Linked DNA regions of Homo sapiens: region 1 is linked to region 2. The links are contacts of gene promoters, found by promoter capture Hi-C in blood cells and fetal thymus (Javierre and others, 2016). All regions are on one chromosome and are shown on one strand. The core of a region is centred on a gene start or on the middle of the fragment in contact, and the rest is flanking DNA. Distances in the headings are between cores, read along the strand shown. Region 1 overlaps NUAK1 (NUAK family kinase 1). Region 2 holds the start of C12orf75 (chromosome 12 open reading frame 75).

Evidence for each region. Contacts are between HindIII fragments. The CHiCAGO score rates a contact against its expected background, and 5 or more counts as called.
Region 1: a fragment that was not itself captured here is called in contact with the fragment with the promoter of C12orf75 in region 2 in 1 of 17 cell types (neutrophils); the score reaches 5.1 in neutrophils.

Annotation. Positions count from the first base shown.
Region 1 is chr12:106,116,355-106,119,916 of GRCh38, reverse strand. The region is part of intron 1 of NUAK1 (NUAK family kinase 1); the gene reads left to right. Among named protein-coding and RNA genes, the nearest start is that of NUAK1, 21 kb to the left of the region's middle. The HindIII fragment of the contact is 3,448 bases long and covers 394-3,562 here.
Region 2 is chr12:105,328,815-105,332,392 of GRCh38, reverse strand. C12orf75 (chromosome 12 open reading frame 75) reads right to left here and starts at 1,702. Exons shown (of 6, transcript NM_001145199.2): 1 at 1,456-1,702. The coding sequence starts at 1,501. RefSeq lists an enhancer at 77-620 and silencers at 1,277-1,376, 1,407-2,066. The HindIII fragment of the contact is 8,522 bases long and covers 1-3,578 here.

The sequences.
Region 1 (3,562 bases), core at 868-3,367, 790 kb before region 2:
AAATCTTTCTCATCGGGATGCACACTTTCTTGCCTTCTTAAAACAAAGTTCCTTGAAGGTAGTGAAAACTTTTTCTTGATGAGTTTGAGAAAATTCTCCTCAATGGTCCTCTGTACTGTGTTTTGGAGTTCTCATGTCTGCTATTTATAGTTTGTGTCTGTCATCTCCCTTATTAACTTTCATTCCTCTTTGTGACCTTTTTAAAAAATAAAATTCTTCTTTTCCCTTAGCGAAAATAGTGCATGCTCAATACTGAAAACTCGCCAGATACAGAAAAGTTAAAGATTAAGGGGAAAGTGAGTTGTCATGTCTTGCTTCTGTCAGTGAGGCTGTGTCTAGCAGCTTTCTAGTTCCATTTTTCCAGCTTCCCTACAGATTTTCTGTGAGTAAGCTTTCCTCGTAATTGTGTTAGTAGGAAAACTATGGGTGACGATCTGCAGGGGCGCCGTGCATGGAATCCATGGCATTTCTTTGAGTGGCATTTCTAAGGGCTTATTTCCATTCCCCAAAGTCTTCAGGGCTGAATGGCGCTCCAAGCATGAAGTCGTGTTTTCTGGGTAACAGGATGAGCCACCTTGGAGTAAATAGGGCTGGTCGGGGTCACTCAGTTAGGATGTGGCTGAGCTGGGTCTCTTGACTCAAGGTCAAGTGTATTTTCTATTTTGCTACCTCTTACCTGTGTTTTACACTACAGGTTAAGAGATAGTGGTTTTGGCATAAAGAAGCTATTGCTATATTTGGATAATTAAAACCAGGAAAAACCTACCTTTATCTCAGTCATCTATGTTGCTCAAGTGACAGATTTTTAGATTTCTTTTTTGAGGGAGTAAGAAGTAGAATTTAGTCCCCTTATTAGCATGCCAGACCCAGTCTCTGTTGGAACATCAGTCTTAGATTAATACTGAGATGGACTCAGAAATACACTTGAAAGCAACTTGCATTATTATCCTTACATAGCTTACATTTTATGACCTGCTTAAAGATGCAAGGAGCATAAATCTTGGGAAGGATGGTCTTATTTACTTGTTCGTCTTTTCTGCAGATGGGATGCTCACATTAGAGCCGGGCTGGCTTCAGATGTCTGCTCCAGGATATTTTAGCTGAACTGTATGAGTCCATTAAACAAATGTAAGAGTTTTTGGGAAAGAAGAGCAGTGTCTCAAACCAAATGTTTTACATGGAGAACATCTGGGGAATATTGGTATTTGTGTGTACAGTACATCAGAAAGCAGCTTGGCGGGGTTCCGCAGGGATGTTTCTGGCCTGTGGTTGCTGGATTTGACAGTTTTGTTGTAAGGGAATGGTTCTTATAAAGTATTGCCATCAAAGCAACGCTTGATCCAGGAAGGAGTGTCCTTGCTTAGCCGCACATTCAAATTGTTCTGATTAGCTCCCCGACCAGACCTTCCACGACATTTGAGCAATCTGCTATCTGAGCTAGTTTCCCCCAAGGCTTTACATTCCAGAGAAAGGAAGCATCACAATGCCAGGGCTAAGAGTGTTTTCTTCCTTACCACATATTTCCATAGATTTGACAAATGTGGAAACAGGCGTGGTCCAGTGGAAGCAGCATTGGCCACTGGATCCAAGTACCTGGGTTGAAACTTGGGTGGGGCCTTTGTGACCTGTGGAAACTTGGGGAGTTCTTGTTGGTTTCTGTTTTCCTCTCCTGCAAAATTTCTAGCTTATCTCATGGGGTGGTGGTGGGGGCAATAAAATGAAGTGGGATGACATTGTATCTATAGGTGGGAGGCCATTCATACAGCATGGTATTGCCTCCATGGATTTGTGGTCTTAGCCACAAGTACAGAGGCAACTTGGACCAGAGTGGAATCTGGGTAGACTGCCCGACTTCAGCAACTTGTAGATATTGGGCCAGGTAGTGGGTGGATAGGTAAGAAAGGAATAATTCTTATACAAATTAAGACTTACGATAGTCATCATTTTTTATAAAATTAAGCTCAACAAATATTTATTGGAAGTCTACTACTATAGAGCCAGATCCTTTCCTAGATATTGAGGACACAGAGGGGAACACAGCAGTTCCTGGCTTGCAGTCTCTGCTTGCTATGTCTGGGGCATTGACAATGAATGACCTTCCCTTTTGTTAGGCTATATACTGACTGTCATTGTGTAGCATGGACAGTGGCAGGTAAATAGTTTGTAGGTGTGAACATTATTTGGCAGAGAATGAAGCTGGACTTCCTGCACCTTTGTGCAAAGTAGGTCAATGTTATCCTTACTGAATCCCTCCCCTGAAATGGGATGAAGCTCCACAATAATTTGATATTGTATTTTTGTGGTGTTTGACGAAGTTATTATAAAAATGACATCTATGTGGGTCCTGAAGACTGCATTTCAACTAGTACCGGTCAAGTGAAGTAGGCCCATTTTATGGAGGAGATGACTGAGTGTAAGGCACGCAGTGTGAGAGAGAAGCAGCAGCAACACTGCCTTGGCTTTTTTTGGAAATGGGAAAATGAATAGCTGAGCAAAGTGAGACTCGGTTTTCTGGTTTGAACTGATAGTTATTTAGGAGTGTGAGAAAGACACAGGGATAGAAATGGGGGAGCCATGCATGGAATGACTTCTCAAGAGGCCCCATCTGTGTGCATACACATCATGTGTCTGTGGGCTCCCAAAAGAACACTTTGCTGGGATGGTTCTTGAAACCTTAGAAAGAGCATCTCCAGGGCTAGCTCTAGAGTTGTGTGCCTGCCTGTTGGCATGGGAGAGGGTGAAGTATCTTGGTCTCTTTCAAAAGGCATCTTGGGGGTAGGAATAGTCCTCACAGTGAAGTCAGGGTGTTCCTCCCAAAAGGAGAGTGAATAGGGAGGGGCTGGGCAGGGAGGAGCCCCTGTGTCTACTGGCCTTTCCAGTAGGATGGTAGGCAACTTGAAGGGTAGGTCTAGTTCATGTTCTCTAGGACTGGATCAATGCCTTATCCAGAACAGATTTTCCACAATTGCTTGCTGTGGAATCGACTCATTCTCACATCGTTTTAGGGACATGCCTCCCAGCCCCTCCCATACAATTCTGCCTTTTGCCCACCTGGTCCCACAGAAAGCAGCAGGAACACTGATTGATAGATGTGCTTTTGAAGATGGAAGTGGTTTAAATATTAGCTAACAAAAGGACTTCTGGTGGGGACAAGGCAGTGCGGCCTCGATGGGGCCTTCATGTCCAGAGGTTCTGATTCAGCTCATATTTATGTAACACCTACTATGTGCCAGGCACTGTGCTGATTGCTTTGTCAGTGTGCTTCAGAGGTTAAGAGTATGGTCTTTCAGCGTATGGAGACCCAGACCTCCTATTTATTTATGTGCCTTAGGGCACGTTACTTAACTTCCCTCAGACTCAGTTTATATTCATTGAGAAGGCAGAAATAATAATGTTTTTGTAAGAATTTAATGAGTGAGAGGTTGAGAGGCTTAACAGAAAGGTACTGAGGGCCTGGCACATAGTGAGGGCTTGATAACTGGTAATTATTATGACTGCTAGCTTTTATTGTGAATCACCCCCAACCCCTCTGGAGTGGGCACTGTTATTGTCTCCATTTGGA
Region 2 (3,578 bases), core at 453-2,952:
AAGCAGTTCATTAATAAATCAAAATGTACATGCATGAAACTAGCCTCATTTTAAGGGAAATCTGCTACAAATCCTTCCTACAATTTTTTTTAATGTGGATAACTTTTCTTCACCTTTTTTAAGTAGGCTACACATGCAGTGGATTGCATACGGCCACAGTACCTAGTAGACTGAGACACAATTTGAGTGCGGGGTGTGGCCCTGACATTGTTTCATACAAGCAGAGCTTTCTGGCCACAGGCAGGTTTGAAGCCCGTCTGCCCTCATTAGCATAAGGTGCTACACTAACCTTCCCCACTGTTAAATGAATCTAAAAAGTTCGCTCTCCTGTGGCTCTCTGCATTGTCACCAGGACAGGATTTAATTCAAGACTCAAATTGAGTCTTAAACTCCATTTTTTACCGGCGTCTGGGTTAAGGGATGTGACAGGCCCAAGGTTACAAAGTCATTGCCAGGGCCTCCACAGCCGCCTAGGAAATACCGCAGCCTCTGACTGCTGTTTGCATTTGCTGGTTAGGCTAGGATGTGGCATCTGGTTGACTTCAATTGGAGGAGATAGGAGCTCTTTATCCAAAAGGACACTGAAATAGGTCAGCAGTTATTACTCAAAACAGATCCAGGGTACCTTAAATCCCGAGACATAGGCAGGGTGAAATAGAAGGGTGAGTTTTGGCAAAAGTCACTTGACACAAAGCCTGGCTGGCCCGGGGAAGCTAGAAGACCTTGCCTGCCAATCAACATGAAGTGGTATAAAAAGAAGTTTCTATTTGTGTGTGTGTGTGTGTGTGTGTGTGTGTGTGTTTAATGAAAAGTATCTTAACAGACTGTTAATAATAAAGCTCTGTCTCACATATGTAAAACATCCTTACTGCTGCAGCTTCTCAGAGAAATCCTAAGAGCAGCCCAGCCGGTCTTCGGCATCAAGGCAGACACAGATGCGTTTTTGCAGCTCTGCTTCTAGTTCTCCCCAACCCCACTCCCACCCTTCCCCGCTTCCTGCCCCACCACCACTGCCCGAAAAGTCCTGTCTTGCTCTGCTGCACTTTTCCAGGTGCAGCGCCTTGGTTCCGAGGAGATGGGGGAGAGGCCTGGAGGAGCAAGTGTGGGAGGTGGGGGAGCGGCCGGGGACCACGTCCGGGAATCCTCTCCCCCAGGAGAGCCCTGAGACCCGCCAGCTGCAGGTGAGCCCCGGCGGCTGCAGGGGAGCCCGCGACAGTCCTCCCCGCGCTCCCTCGGCAGAGACGCCCCGCAGGCTCGACTGCTCCAGGCGCAACCGCCCCCGCGCGGGGGACTTGCCACGCTTTCGGTCTTTCCAGAAACGGGCGGTCTGCTCCTGTCCCGAAAATGGGGACGGGGAGAGGGGGCTGCGCGCCCCCCACCCAAGATCCCTGCACCCTTCCTTCCCGCCGCCTCTCCCGCCCGCCCCCGCCGGCCCCCGCCTCCCGCCGGACTCACCTTGGCCCGCGCCCGCGCTGGTGGCGGTGGAGTTCCCGCAGCCCATCGCGCAGCCGGCCGGGGAAGCCGCGCTCCGGAGCTCTCGGCCGCGGGTCCTGGGGGCGGAGACCCAGACGAAGGGCGGCGCACCCCGAGCGGGAGGCTGACGGGGCCGCGAGGGGCCAGGAACCGAGTGGGGGCCGCCCCCTCCCACCGCCGGGAGACGCGGCCCGGGGCGCAGCGGGCTGCGGGCTGCCGGGCGGAAACCACCCGGCACCCCTCGCCCCGGCCCCGCCCCGCCCGGGGACCCGCCGGACCCACCCGTCGCCCCAGCAACCTCGGCACTGGCCAATCCCCAGCCTCCTGCGCGCTTCGCGGTCGGCCATTGGTCGTTATTACGAGGGGCGGGAGTTTAAAGTGGGCCCCGGGGCGAGGGAGCGGCAAGGGGCGTGGCCGGCGCAGCGGGGTGGGGGTGCCCACCTGCCCACCCTCAGCATCCTCCTCGCCTTGTCTTTGCTTTTCTTTCCTCACTTCCCCTCCCTGCCCCAGGATGTGGGGAGGAGAGGAAGTAGCAGGGGGCACCCTGCACAGTGGACGCCCAATAAATGCTATTGACTGAATGTTGTGCAGGTCTGAAGCCAAAACCGAAATCCCCAGCTGCTTTAACAGAAGGCCAACGCAGCTCTGTTCCCCATACGCACTGCCTGGCAAAAGTTCTTCCCCAGATTGGTCATCTTGACCTATTCCTCTTTAAAACAAATGTCTGCAACGATTTCAATAACTTGGATTCAGGACCTCCTCTCTGATAAATGAGAGAACTGTGGATGGGCACGGTGCTGTACGTTTCAACATGATAGTTGGGCCAGCGTTACTGCAGTCAGACTGTCTGAGTTAAAGTCTTCGTTCTGCCCCGTGATAGCTGCGTGACCTCAGGAAAGTAACTTAACCCATTGGGTACATCCCTTGTTTCACCTATAAAATGACAGTAACTCAGGTACATATAAAGTACCTAACAAAGTTCCCTATCTTTAGTAAATATCAGCTATTATCATTATTATTATTAACTCTAATAGAAATGAATACAAATTCCTTAAAGGGAAAGACTATCTGATTTTTCATAGCGTCCTCCTGGCTTGTAATACAGACTCACTAAATGTTTTGTGAGGTGACTTCAAGCCAGGAATTAAAGCTCCATTTTAAATTCACTTAATATTTGTAGGGAGCCTAGCCTGTGCCAAGTCCTTTGTTAAGTTCCGGGGATACAAATATGTGGGAGACAGTCTAACCAGGCAGATAGATTAAAATAAATTAATTACAATATAGAAGGAATGTTAACAGAGGAATACAGGTGCCATAGAGTCCCAGAGGATGCTGGGATGCTAGTTAAAAGACTTGCCTAAGGCCAGGCATGGTAGCTTACACCTGTAAACTAGCACTTTGGGAGGCTGACACGGGCGGATCACGAGGTCAGGAGTTCGAGACCAGCCTAACATGGTGAAACCCTGTCTCTACTAAAAATACAAAGATTAATTGGGTGTGGTGGCATACACCTGTAATCCCAGCTACTTAAGAGGCTGAGGCAAGAGAATCACTTGAACCTGAGAGGTGGAGGTTGCAGTGGGCCGAGATAGCACCACTGCACTCAAGCCTGGGTGACAAAGCGAGATTCTGTCTCAAAAAAACAAAACAAAACAAAAAAAAAACAGACTTCCCTGAAACCATACTGTTGTGTTTACATAAAAATAAAAATATGAACCAGAATCAAGGACTTGGCAGGTTTTTGAACATGGCCTTTGAGGCAATGGTGCGTTCTATCATTCAGGATGCAAAATATACAGCATTCTCCATTTGAAAATTAGCTGTGGTAGCCATGTGCTGAGAGGATAATTAATTCTTGGATAAATAAAGGCATTTTTTAGTTGACTTCTAGAAGTACTGCTTCTCTACCAGCCTGTGCTGTCTTGGTTCAGTGTCCATCCTAATACATAGCCAGAACTGGGGAAAAGGGAACTATCAAGTAGCCGAAAGATATTCTCCTGCTTATTTCTGTGCTGACACTAGACTCCAGCCTTAGGACACTTGTAAGAGACAGAAAATGGACCTTGACACCTAGAAACTGGCCTAGAAGCTGTGACACTCAACAG